3 separate regions of the Homo sapiens genome follow, and regions 2 and 3 are each linked to region 1. Evidence: promoter capture Hi-C in 16 types of primary human blood cells and fetal thymus (Javierre and others, 2016). All regions are on one chromosome and are shown on one strand. Each heading gives the region's core, a stretch centred on a gene start or on the middle of the fragment in contact. The rest is flanking DNA. Distances are from core to core; before and after follow the strand shown.

Region 1 (4,143 bases), core at 474-2,973:
CAAGTAGTTAACAGATGCACATATATTTTGCAAAGTATTCAAAGGTGTTCTTATTGCCAGTGACTTCTGGGATACCACTGGGTTGAGCCACTGGGTGCTAGTGGCCCTGAGGCCTGCAGTGTACAGAGCTGCTGCACACGAGAGGCTTTGGGCTGCATTTGCGGGCCCGTGACTGGGGGCTGTCAGGAGCTGGCTGCAGCCAGAGGGGAGAAGCATGGGGGAGATGAGCACTCTCCCTTGTGCTTTTGGGAAGACCAGTAGAGAGAGCTGAGGCGTCAGCAGTCCTGGCTCTCATTCTCCTGCTGCCTGTCACTTATTCTCTGGGCCTTTTAAGGGAAGAAACTGGTTTTCTGCCTCCATCACCCCAGCTTAATATATTTACACTAACTTTTGCTCCCTTCATCTTCAACGGGACAAACTTGGCCAGCTCTCTGCCCTTGACATTCAAATAGTTTCTGGAAACCTGGCCTCTCCCATGAGGATAAGAGGCAGACAGAGTCTGCTGCACAACCCTATGGAGGTAGAACGCAGCCTTCACCTCTCACTTGGAAATATTTGATCATTTATTTACATCTTAGTTTGGCCTCTTCCAAGGCACCCTGGATCATCTCAGCAATCCTTTCAACTACCCTGATAGGTAGATGTTATTAATCACCATTTTACAGAGTGAAAATGGAAACTGAGCAGTCCAGTGACTTGTCCAAGGTCACAGGGCTGTTAGAGGCGGCACTAGGAATTGAGCCTAGAGCTTTGCCTCCAAGTCTAGTATATCTTTTCCCCTGCCTCTTCCTGCCCTAGGAGTCCACGTGTTTCTTGATTGTGGTCTTTTCATCCTCTTAAGACTTTCAGGTGAGCGCCACGAAGTGGTTAGCTACAGAGGCCTCAGCCAGGGCATTCAGGGATGGGCGGCAGGAAGCTCGGGGTTGGAATTCCTCACTTGGGAACGCCTCTTTGCTGAGAGGCACACAGAGACCATCGTGAAGGGGAAATTGAATGCTTCTCCCAGGAGAGCTCCACTTCCGTGGAGCTCAGACTCTGAGGGGTCAGGATCTCCTATGGGAGCAGTGGGGGATTGGAGGAGGTCCTGACCCCGTGGTACTGCCCAGCAGGAGGCCGAGTGTCACTGTGCTGCCCCACTCTTAGCCTCCCCATTGCCATAGCATTTTATTTCCCTGTTCCTTCAGCAGACAGTCACTATCTCTTACCCCTCAGTCCCTTCCTGACTGGCCATTAGTATATCAGGTCTTCCCAGTCCCTATGACAATTTTTTAAAAGGTAAAAATATAAACAGATCATTTTTAGTCACTGTAAAGTGCCACCAACACCATCACTGACTTCTCAGCTAAAACACAAAAACTTAGCAGGGACATTTGAGCAGCAAGTTAGACTCCATCAAGGACAGGGGATGGGGGCTCTCACGAATGATCTCCAGCCTAATCACCAATCCTATAGAGTCTTTAGCTCTGCAGAAAACCTGAGGCGCCGTTCAGGAAGGTGGCGATGTCTTCCCCAACTCCCACCACCCGGCCTCCCCACCCTCCCCACCTGCCATGGGTCACCTTCTATAGGGGGCAGGAGCTGGGGAGTGGGGCTGCCAGCCCCCTGTCCAGGTGAAGCCTGGGGTGGTTCAGCATCCGCTGGGCTGGCTTCTTTCACCTTCAGCTTGGATCCTGCGGCCACCTCCGGAGCTGTGGCTGCCTCCATGCTGGGCCTTCCCAGAGGCTGAGCTCCAGCTCTAGATTTTCACTGCTGGTGATGAGGGAGGGGCTGAGCACCTGCTCCCAGGCTGGCCTCCCGGGTCCCAGCCACAGGGTTACGTAACTGGGCTGGCCCTCCCCACTCAGCTACGCCCAGCAGAAAGGCTGAAGTAGGGGTTGGGGGAGAGAGGAGGATCAGACAGCAGCCCAGAATAGCCCCAGGAGGACTGAGGTGTCCCTGTTATCTCGGGAGAGAGATGACACCCCCCACAGCACCAGGGAGGGAGAGCTTGAACACACCATCCAAAAGGGACCTCTAATTTCTGTAGGGAGGGTTGAGTGACATCTCTGCTCCTGACCTCCAGTTCATCCCGTGGGGCATTCAGGTCCCAAAGAAGGGGCCCAGGATTAGCTGACTCACAGCAACGCCTGAACTGCTCTTTCTCCCTCTGCTCCCACATTCAATGAATTGTAAAGTCTTATCAACTCGACCTTTACAGGGCCTGTCCCATCCTCCCCCGCTCCCCGGGGGCAGCGGGCACAGCGCAGTGGTAGGTGGAGACTGCACTCGCACTGGCTGCCCAGGTGCCACTTGGGGCTCTGTCACCAACTAGCTGTGTGACTCACAACACCTCACAGTCTCTCTTCAGTCTGTTTCCTCATCTGTAAAATGGAGATAATTATAACCATAGGGTCGTTGTGAGGATTAAAGAGGTAATCTCTGTAAAGTGCTTAGCAGAGTGTAGCCGACTAAGTGCTTGATAAATGTAAGCTATTTTTAGGTCAGGCCAGCACTTCCCCCTTTGAGAGCTGTCAATGGCTGCCTTGCCTATTAGATGAAGTACAAATAAAGGGAGAGGCAGCAGTGGTGGAGGGAGGCGAGCTCAGAGACCTGCGTGTGACTTCTGGCTGTACCACTCACTCACCAGCTGGGACTCTGGGCAAATGGCCGACTCGGAGTCTCAAGTCCCAGTCTATGAAACAAGGGATGATGCCATGATTGTGTTGAGGATAAAATGATACAATCTATAGGAAAGTGGCCAGCTCACAGCAGGTGCTAGTCACATACTACAGGTCCTACATGATTTCCAGACTTAGCAAACCATCTTTCTATACGTGTTGTACATGCCATGGACACTGCCACCTATCATACTCCTACCTTCTTATCTCCAGAAGCCAGCATCCCTCTGCATTTTAAAATGCTTTAATTTTAGAGCAGTTTGAGAGTCACGGCAAAGCTGAGTGGAAAGTATAGGGTTCCCACAGCCCCCTACTCACCCCTGTATTTTTTTCATGGAAAAAAAATGGGTGCAGTTGAACAAATGGACTGACTTCTTACTCATTTTTGCCTTCAATTTTGGGGTAATTGGTAAGATCCCAGGAGCCTGTGTTATCTTGGGGTGACAGAAGCTCAGCCTCTTTGTAACTGGTATAGGAGCTAAGGCCCAGGACAATCTGTTTATTGGGGCCTTGGATGGCCTATGGGGTTGATTTGGTTGGCAGAAGACTGGGTTTTTGCCATATCAGAACTAGCTTGAAGGTCTTTCTGAACTATTTTTCCTGCTTGACCCAGCCAAGGCCCCGTAAGTGTGGACAGTCTCCTAGCCAGGAGACCCCAAATACACCCCCTTTTACACAACACGTAACCCATCTTTTGGTGAGGAAATTGGCCCAGGCTGAGTCTTAGCCCTTTGTTGGAGCGAAGGTGTAAAGAATCAACTTTAAGATGCAGGTTCCTAAGGTTTGCCCATCAGAAAGTCTAATTCAATAGGTCTGGGGTGCTATCCAGAAATCTGCACCTAAAAAAACCAACCTAGTGACTCTGGCGCAGGAAATCTTGGAATACCATGTTAGATAGAATTCCTTCAAATAAAACAACGATCTTAGATAATGTCCTGGGGTAGGAACTCGCCCATCAGATGGGCCTCAGGAACAAGGGCTTTGCCCTGTCATCTTCAGACCAAGGTGCTGGAGTATTACATGGAATATTGCCCCAGGCTAGCAGGGTAGGATGGCTAACGGTTCCAGACGGGTGGGCAGGAACCTCTCTTAAATGCTTTGCAAGAGAGGAAGGCTGCAACTCTCCAAAGGTCCTTAAATGAAAGGGACAAGAAAGGGCCCGTAAGAACAGCAAGAGAAATGTAAGAGGAGCAGATGGGAAGTTACAAAGCTGAACTTCTCAGTGCCGCCAGGGGTCAAACCTGCTCAAAAGAACACAGAATTCAAGGAGTAATTATCTGTTGCTGTGTCCAGAAGGAAGAGTGTAGCAACTGAAACCTGTGAAGGTATGTGGGGTGGGTGCCTAGACTTTCTAGGAGGAAGAACAAGAAAGCTGGTCGTATACACACCCACGGGAGGAAGATCTGTATGAGCACTAAGAGCAAGAAAATGAAGAACAAGAAAATTAGGTAATTTATGGCTCACATTTTTGTGAGACGTTTTCCTC
Region 2 (4,143 bases), core at 1,095-3,594, 50 kb after region 1:
TGGGTCTTATTCTTATAAAAAAATAACACCCTGAACTGAGCTGGGACATCATATCTGTGGGTTTAAGCCTAGATTAGGCTAACTGAGATTAGTTTTCCAAAAAACTAAAATGTTGTCATAGGTTATATACATTGTAATGTTAAGCAACTGCTGCATAATTATTAAGGGCTTTGGTGCACCTTGGGCGGGGAACAAAAACAAATAAACCTGTGTGCTCAGAGTTCCATTCTTATATGATCGATATTAAATTGTGTTTAAGGCAGGCACAGTGGCTCATGCCTGTAATCCCAGCACTTCAGGGGCTGAGGTGGGTGGATTGCTTGAGCCCAGGAGTTCAAGACCAGCCTGAGCAACATGGCAAAACCCTCTACAAAAAAATACAAAAATTACCCAGGAGTGGTGGCAAGAGCCTGTAGTCCCAGCTACTCAAGTGACTGAGGTGGGAGGATCCCTTGAGCCTGGAAGGTCAAGGCTGCAGCGAGCCGTGACGGTATCACTGCACTCCAGCCTGGGAGACAGAGTGAGACCCTTAAAAAATTGTGTTTAATTTTAAAATATAAATATAGCAATACTAAACTAAAATACATTACTGTGAATCACTGGACCATGCCAATACTAATATCTGACAGCTCTGCATGTGGTATCAAGCACAAGCTTTATGTATACAAGAATGAGTCTCACCTTTCCAGAGTTCTCAGGACCAATAGCCATGCCAAATTCAGTCCGAATAAAGGTGTTATTGATGAGATCTGTAATATCCTTAAAGTTCTTCCCATAATCCTCACTGAGAGGAAGAAAAAAAGGGCAAATTTAGGGTGCAGTGGTCATGGATATTACTGAGTTCCTACTCAGCTTTCATTCTCCCTTTCCACCAATCATGCTGAGAGACTCGGCTCACCCTGAATAGCCACATTCCTAGCTCCAGAGGTGCCCTGGTGAGTCCGAAGAACATTCCACCCGCCCCCCCCCCCACAAACCCACTCACCAGTGATGGGGGTTCAGGAATCGGGGAGTGACTCAGGATGAGCCAATGGGAGATAAAAGGTGGGTGGGAAATTTGGGGTCTTCTAGGAAGCACACTGCCTCCCACTTATGATAGCTACCTGATAAAATGGTCTATATTCCTTCAGACCAGCAGTTCTCAATCAGGGTGCTTTTGTCCCCCAAGAAACATTTGGTAATGTTTGCAGACTTTTTTTTTTTCCTTTGAGACAAGATCACACTCTGTTACCCAGGCTGGAGTGCAGTGATGCAATCTCAGCTCAGTGGTGCAATTCCCAGGCTCAAGTGATTCTCCAGCCTCAGCCTCCCGAGTAGCTGGAATTACAGGTCCGTGTCACCACGCCTGGCTAATTTTTGTATTTTAAGTAGAGACGGGGTTTCACCACATTGCTCAGGCTGGTCTTGACTCCCAAGCTCAAAGTGATCCGCCCGCCTCGGCCTCCCAAAGTGCTGGGATTACAGGCATGAGCCACTGTGCCCGGTCCTACAGACATTTTTGATTATCACAATGAAGGGCTGAGGTGCTACTGGCATTAAGTGGGTAGTGGCCAGCGATGTTGCCAAACATCCTACAAGGCACAGGACAGTCCCACAATAATAAAGAATTACCTGGCCCCAATGTCAAGAGTACTAAGGTTGAGAAACCCCAATGATGCAGTATGTGAACACACAGTAAAGACTGCTATCGTCATTCTGTCACAATGGGAGCACAGAGAAGGTAATTTCAGAATACCGAGAAGCAGAGCCTATGACACTGAATTGAATCGACCCTGAAGCCTGTCATTCCTCTGTACTTAGTTACAGAATCAACTATTCCCTTATTATTCAGGTTAGTTTAAGGTGAGATCTATGCAAAGTGCTCCCAAAGGCTTCTAACTAATCTATTAATCCACAGTAGTTATGAAAAAGCTGTAAATGAAGCTGTAGCAAGTTCTTGAAGTTTTTCCCCATAGAAGTTACCATCCCTAGGCAGAAGTCTGTAAGGCACTCAGTACATGAAATACAGCTAGGAAAAACAAACAAACTTAATCTCAACTCTCAGAGTTTCCAAGCTTTTTCCAAAAGTTCATTCCAACAATATCTTTGAGAAGTATTCGAATCCATGTTTAGATTCTGGAAAATAAAAGCAAAAATTCCATAGCTGTCTAACCCTGACAGGTTTAATACTATGTATAGCTCTCTTACACAATACAAAATGCTAAATCTTAATGTTCATTAAATTTAAGTATCCATCAATGAAGACTGCTGTGCACTGCAAATTTCTGCACACAGATAAATGTAATCTGCAGTGGTCTTCAATGATAGAATATAGTTATGTGTTGCATGAAGATGTTTTGGTTACCAATGGACTGTTTATATGATGGTGAGTCCAGATTATGAAACCATATTGTTACCATGCCTTTTCTATGTTTAAATATACAGATACTTAGTACTGTGTTACAGCTGCCTACAGTATTCAGTACAGTAACATGCTCTACAGGTTTGTTGCCTAGGAACAAGAAGTTATACCATATAGCTGTGGTGTGTAGCAGGCTATACTGTCCAGGTGTGAGTAAGTACACTCTGTGATGTTTGCACAATAATGAAATCACCTAATGATGCACTTCGCAGAATGTATCCCCATCATTAAGCGAAGCTTGAATGTACATGATGTAAATGATGTTACAGGTTTTGGTAGCGGCCTCAACAAATAAAGAATTGCAGAACCATGAGCAGTGTAAGGGGCTGAAGTGAACATCTTGTCCAACTCCCTCATTTCACAGATGAGGAGTTGCAAGGGAAGGCAATTTATCAAAAGTCAACTAGTTAATTAAGGGCAAAATTGAAACTATAGTCCAATTCTCTGAACCTTTAGCCCTAAACTGGAGATAACTTTTAATTATCTGTGAGGATTTTTTCCCTTACAAACTGGGGTCTTCCTCTGTCTTGCTGGGGGCTTATGACCTGGCAGAAGAGATCAGCTAAGAGAAAGTTGGAGACAGAAGGGAAGTATCCATGTGTGTATGTAGAGGTCCCTGATAATATGCTGAAACAAACTACATATGTCTAAGTTGTCTGAATGACTCTATCCTTCCTTAAGTACATACACACACACAGAAAATTCCTAGATAAATGAAATACAATTGGGCGCCACCCAACAGAGTCCTATATTATATTACCCTTTCTTTGGCTTTGCAGTAGATCAGCTCTTATCTTCCTGACAGCTGGCCAAGAGATGTGCATAAACAATTCCCAGCTCTACAGTGCATGTATCATCAACAGCTCTGTAAATCTTCCAAAGGGGTTGAAGCAGCCTGATTAGTACTAGTTTACAAATTGGTCCTCCTTCATGACATCCCCAGAGAATCTCCACAAACCTGTTGGCAAGCCTGCTTGCTTTTTAAGAACTTGGCACAACAAACACATCCCTGCCCTTCAAAAAAAGAAACCAGCATGAGCAAAACAAAAAATCACCTGCTACAGCACTCTGGTACTTTAGTCAGTTAAATAAATGGAGAAAATGAACTAGTATCAACCTGCTGGGACTTAAGTAGGGTTCTAGCAAGGCCACTTTGGGCCCAGGGGTATATTTTTTAACATAATGCTTTATTTAAATGTAGCTTTATTTTCTATCAGCATACATATCATGAAGATATGTATGGTCTCAAACTCCTGGCCTCAAGCAATCTTCCCACCTTGGCCTCCCAAAGCTCTAGAATTAGAGGCGTGATCCTAGCACTTTATTTTCTATCAGCCTATGTCACGAAGAGGAAATTGATGAAGCAACTTTGATAAATCTAATTTTCAAATTCCATATGATAATTAATAGCGTTATGAACAGCCGTCGAATGATAAGTAAACAGTTAAAATGCTGTGAAACCAACTGCTTTAGAAACAAGTCTTTTTGGCCGGGCGTGGTGGCTCATGCCTGTAATCCCAGCACTTTGGGAGGCCAAGGCAGGTGGATCACAAGGTCAGGAGTTCAAGACCAGCCTGGCCAAGATGGTGAAACCCTGTCTCTACTAAAAACACAAAAATTAGCCAGGCATGGTGGCACGCGCCTGAAATCCCTGCTACTCAGGAGGCTGAGGCAGAGAATTGCTTGACCCCGGGAGGCAGAGGTTGCAGTGAGCCGAGATCGTGCCACTGCACTGCAGCCTG
Region 3 (4,143 bases), core at 611-3,110, 34 kb after region 1:
CACCACCACCAGGCCAAACCCTCCTGTGACTCTGATACTTTTTTTTTTTTTGAGATGCAGTCTCACTCTGTTGCCCAGGCTGGAGTGCAGTGGCATGGTCTTGGCTCACTGCAAGCTCAGCCTCCCGGGTTCACGCCATTCTCCTGCCTCAGTCTCCTGAGTAGCTGGGACTACAGGTGTCCACCACCACGCCCAGCTAATTTTTTGTATTTTTAGTAGAGACGGGGTTTCGCCGTGTTAGCCAGGATGGTCTCGATCTCCTGACCTCATGATCCACCTGCCTCAGCCTCCCAAAGTGCTGGGATTACAGGTGTGAGCCACCGCGCCCAGCGACTCTGATACTTTGCATGTGTACTTCCTTCAGCTGAAAATGCCCTTCCCTCCCCATTCCTGCCTATCATACTTAAGGCTCAGTCTTAAATGTTTTTCAAGTGTGTTCACTGTATGGTTTTGAGTGCAAGGCTGTTCAGCCGTTTATTTGTAGGCTCATTTGGCAAGTATTACTGAACATCTACTATGTGCAAAAATTGTCATAAGCACCAGAGGAGCATCAGTGAACACAACTTTAAAAATCACTGCCATCCATAGGACTCAATTAGAAGCTTCCTCAACGAAGATATTCACATGGCCAACGAGCATATAAAAAGTTGTTCAACATCTTTAGTCATTAGAGAAATGCAAATCAAAGCTATAAACGAGATAGTATTTCACTCCCATTAGGAGTGCTGTTACAAAAATAGGAGAATATAATGTGTTTGCAATGAAGTAGAGAAATTGGAATCCTTTTGTATTGCATGTAAAATGGTACAACCATGTGGAAAACCCATTGGTATTTCCTCCAAAAGAGAAACATGGAATTATCATGTGATCCTGCTATTTCACTCCTACATATATCCCCAAAGGAACTGAAAGCATTGACTTAAACAGTTACATGTATAACAATGTTCATGGCAGCATTCAGTATTCATAAGAGCTGAAAATGGAAACAGCCTAAGTGTCCATCAATGGAGGAATAAAAAACAGGCTGGGCATGGTGGCTCACGCCTGGAATCCCAGCACTTTGGGAGGCCAAGGCAGGCAGATCACCTGAGGTCAGGAGCTCGAGACCAACCTGGCCAACATGGTGAAACCCCATCTCTACTAAAAATACAAAAATTAGCTGGGTGTGGTGGCACACACCTGTAAACCCAGCTACTCAGGAGGCTGAGGCAGGAGAATCCCTTGAACTTGGGAGACCAAGGTTGCAGTGAGCTGAGATCACGCCACCGCACTCCAGTCTGGGCAACAGAGCGATTCCATCTCAAAAAAAAAAAAAAAAAAGAAAGAAAAAGAAAAAAAAGGTGCTATATTCAAACAAAGGAATATATTCTAGTCTTAAAAAGCAATAAGTGAAATTCTAAAACATGCTGCAATGTGGCTGAACTTTGAAACAATATGCAAAATGAAAGAAGCCAGACATACAACAACCAATAGTGTATGATTCTGCTTACATGAGCTACCTAGAATAGGCAAATTCATTGAGACATAAAATAGAATGTTGGTTACCAGAGCTGGGTGACTGGGTGGGGAACGAGGAGTGCTTGTGCACCTGGTGCAATTTCTATTTGGGATGATGAAAAAGCTCTGGAAATAGGGGTGATGGTTGTGCAACATTGTGACTGTGCTTAATGCTACTGAATTGTACCCTATACAATGTTAAAAACTGCAAATTTTGTTAGACATATTGCCACAATAAAAAAAAAAAAGGAAACAAAAAAATGTACATGGGTAGGCTTGTTGGCTTGGCAAGCAACATTACTAGGGGACAGGTTCCCCGAAGCCTCAAATCCTACCACATGCAGCTGAAGGCACAGTACACCACTGCGATGCCGAGACTCACCTTCGGAGAGCACGCTTGTTATGTAGACGCCGCGGAGGGAGGTCACGTTGGTAAAGTCCGTCTCTCCGCCTGTGGTAGTGTAGAGATGTCGGTCCAAAGACTTGGAATAGACAATGCCTCGATCATCTGAGGTAAAGATTGTGCCAAACCCAGTGTCTGAAATAGGCAAACAAACAAAAATACTAAGTCTTGGGTGGAACCAAAGAGAAAAACAATAGTCTAACCACACACGATTACCTGCCTGACCAAACACAGTAGCCAATTGTGTCTCTTCATGATGAAGACTCAGACCTGAGAATTAATCAAGGTTTGATACTCAAGATCTTTATGCCCATCTTTAATTCTAGTACCCAGCTTAGTGCCTGGAATATGGCAGATGCTGAGTTTGTTGAATAAATTAATCAGATGCTACAGAAAAACTCTTCCCAGATATATTTTGGTGGGAGAGGCCCTATGTTTAGTTTACATATTTTTAAATCTTTACACTCTAGAACAATGCTTCTCAAACTATCTGTAGTGAAGGATCAATTTGTAAGATTTCCAATATGTCACAAACTGATGCTATTGTAAAACATAATAAAAACTAATCATTAGAAAATGAAAAGGTAAACAAAATATATGCCCCTAAGTTTTTTTTTTTTGAGATGGAGTCTCGCTCTGTTGCCCAGGCTGGAGTGCAGTGGCACGATCTCAGCTCACTGCAAGCTCCACCTCCCGGGTTCATGCCATTCTCCTGCCTCAGCCTCCTGAGTAGCTGGGACTATAGGTGCTCGCCACCACGGCCAGCTAATTTTTTGTATTTTTTGTAGTAGAGATGGGGTTTCACTGTGTTAGCCATGACGGTCTCGATCTCCTGACCTCGTGATCTGCCCGCCTCAGCCTCCCAAAGTGCCAGGATTACAGGTGTGAGCCACTGCGCCCAGCCATAAACCCCTAATTTTTTGTCATTAGATCCAACAGACATAAAATTGCTTTGTCAAAAGGCTAGAAGAGTTTCCAAACTCTTGCTCTCAATTTCTGTACTTATCTGGTAACAGATAGTTTGCAAATCAGTACCAGTCTGCTGACCATTCTTTGAGCAGCTCTGCTCTAGAACACCTGAACATACACACAAGCTACCAAAACAAGTGGCATTTTTAACAGGGGCTACAGATGATCTCTAGGACAGAAAAATCAGTAGGGCACTAATAAATTTCTAGGGGTAAGAGGAAAACTCGACATGTAAAAATAAAAGCTGCTCAAAGCTTACATCTCTATGCTTTTAAGGGTAAGCCACTAAAAAGCTCTTACCTCCAGGTTCATCTACATGCATGAATACCATGTCATCATTTGCTGCCAGAATAGAATAGAACTGTTCCTGTCCCACGGAGGGGAGCTGGGCCATGCTCCATGTGTCCCCTTGATCTGTTGAAACGTGGATCCTTCTTGTTGTATCCTAGAACAGATGTCAATATTTATCTTTCTAATTTTCTGCCAAGATGCCATGGGCAGGGACATGAACAAGAATGTTTTAAATAACTACTATTATCCATTTCTCTACTGGGTACGATTGCTATGAATGAAAGGTCATAGTACCAATTACCAAAGCAATTTCTAGCCCCTAGCAAAGTTCTAGGTAAAGGAACAATCCATTCTATTCTAAGTAAGGCTATCTTGGCTTTCTCTTTGAATTCTTCATTCTGATGCGGCCCTGTAAGATAGTATAGTCTTGGTCTCTGATAGTCCACCTCCTTCAGTAGAGCTAAGGATTTGATGAGAACATTAGGTTGGCTTTATAGCCATTTGCATACACTCAGGTAATTCTTAAAATGATGACTACTGCATAAAAGTTTGGTCCCTTTCATACAGTGCTTGCATAATTTAAAGAATTATATACTTAAGGGTCTAGAAAATAGAGATGAAACCCATGTTTGGGAGATCACAAGGGAAGTCAAGATGTAACACGCCTTCTCTCTAAGGAAGTCTCTCAGAATAGCCAGGATGAAGGGAACAGGCATGGGCTGGAAAGAGGCCAAGGAGAGTCGGAAATTACTATAAGGAAACTGATTAGGGAGTATTTGGCTGACGAAAAGAGTCTGTTAAGAAAGCAATTAAAACTTAACTCTCTGATAAATAGCTTAACATCGCTACTAGATACAGTTAGCCTGAGCATGAGAATTAATGTCGGTGTTTCCTTAGATTAAATACTCTTTAAAGTTCAGTGATAAGTACATTTAACTTATTCAACTTATACCAACATGTCTCATTACTTTGAATCTTATTCT

What was found. Contacts are between HindIII fragments. The CHiCAGO score rates a contact against its expected background, and 5 or more counts as called.
Region 2: a fragment that was not itself captured here is called in contact with the fragment with the promoter of MYBPHL in region 1 in 1 of 17 cell types (M1 macrophages); the score reaches 5.3 in M1 macrophages.
Region 3: a fragment that was not itself captured here is called in contact with the fragment with the promoter of MYBPHL in region 1 in 1 of 17 cell types (M2 macrophages); the score reaches 5.5 in M2 macrophages.

The regions. Positions count from the first base shown.
Region 1 is chr1:109,305,288-109,309,430 of GRCh38, forward strand. It overlaps MYBPHL (myosin binding protein H like), which reads right to left and starts at 1,724. Exons shown (of 9, transcript NM_001010985.3): 1 at 1,560-1,724. The coding sequence starts at 1,704. RefSeq lists enhancers at 1,242-1,981, 1,982-2,720. The HindIII fragment of the contact is 12,327 bases long and covers 1-4,143 here.
Region 2 is chr1:109,354,686-109,358,828 of GRCh38, forward strand. It overlaps SORT1 (sortilin 1), which reads right to left. Exons shown (of 20, transcript NM_002959.7): 4 at 682-784. Among named protein-coding and RNA genes, the nearest start is that of SORT1, 41 kb to the right of the region's middle. The HindIII fragment of the contact is 584 bases long and covers 2,053-2,636 here.
Region 3 is chr1:109,338,845-109,342,987 of GRCh38, forward strand. It overlaps SORT1 (sortilin 1), which reads right to left. Exons shown (of 20, transcript NM_002959.7): 9 at 3,170-3,314; 10 at 1,880-2,035. Among named protein-coding and RNA genes, the nearest start is that of MYBPHL, 34 kb to the left of the region's middle. The HindIII fragment of the contact is 2,521 bases long and covers 601-3,121 here.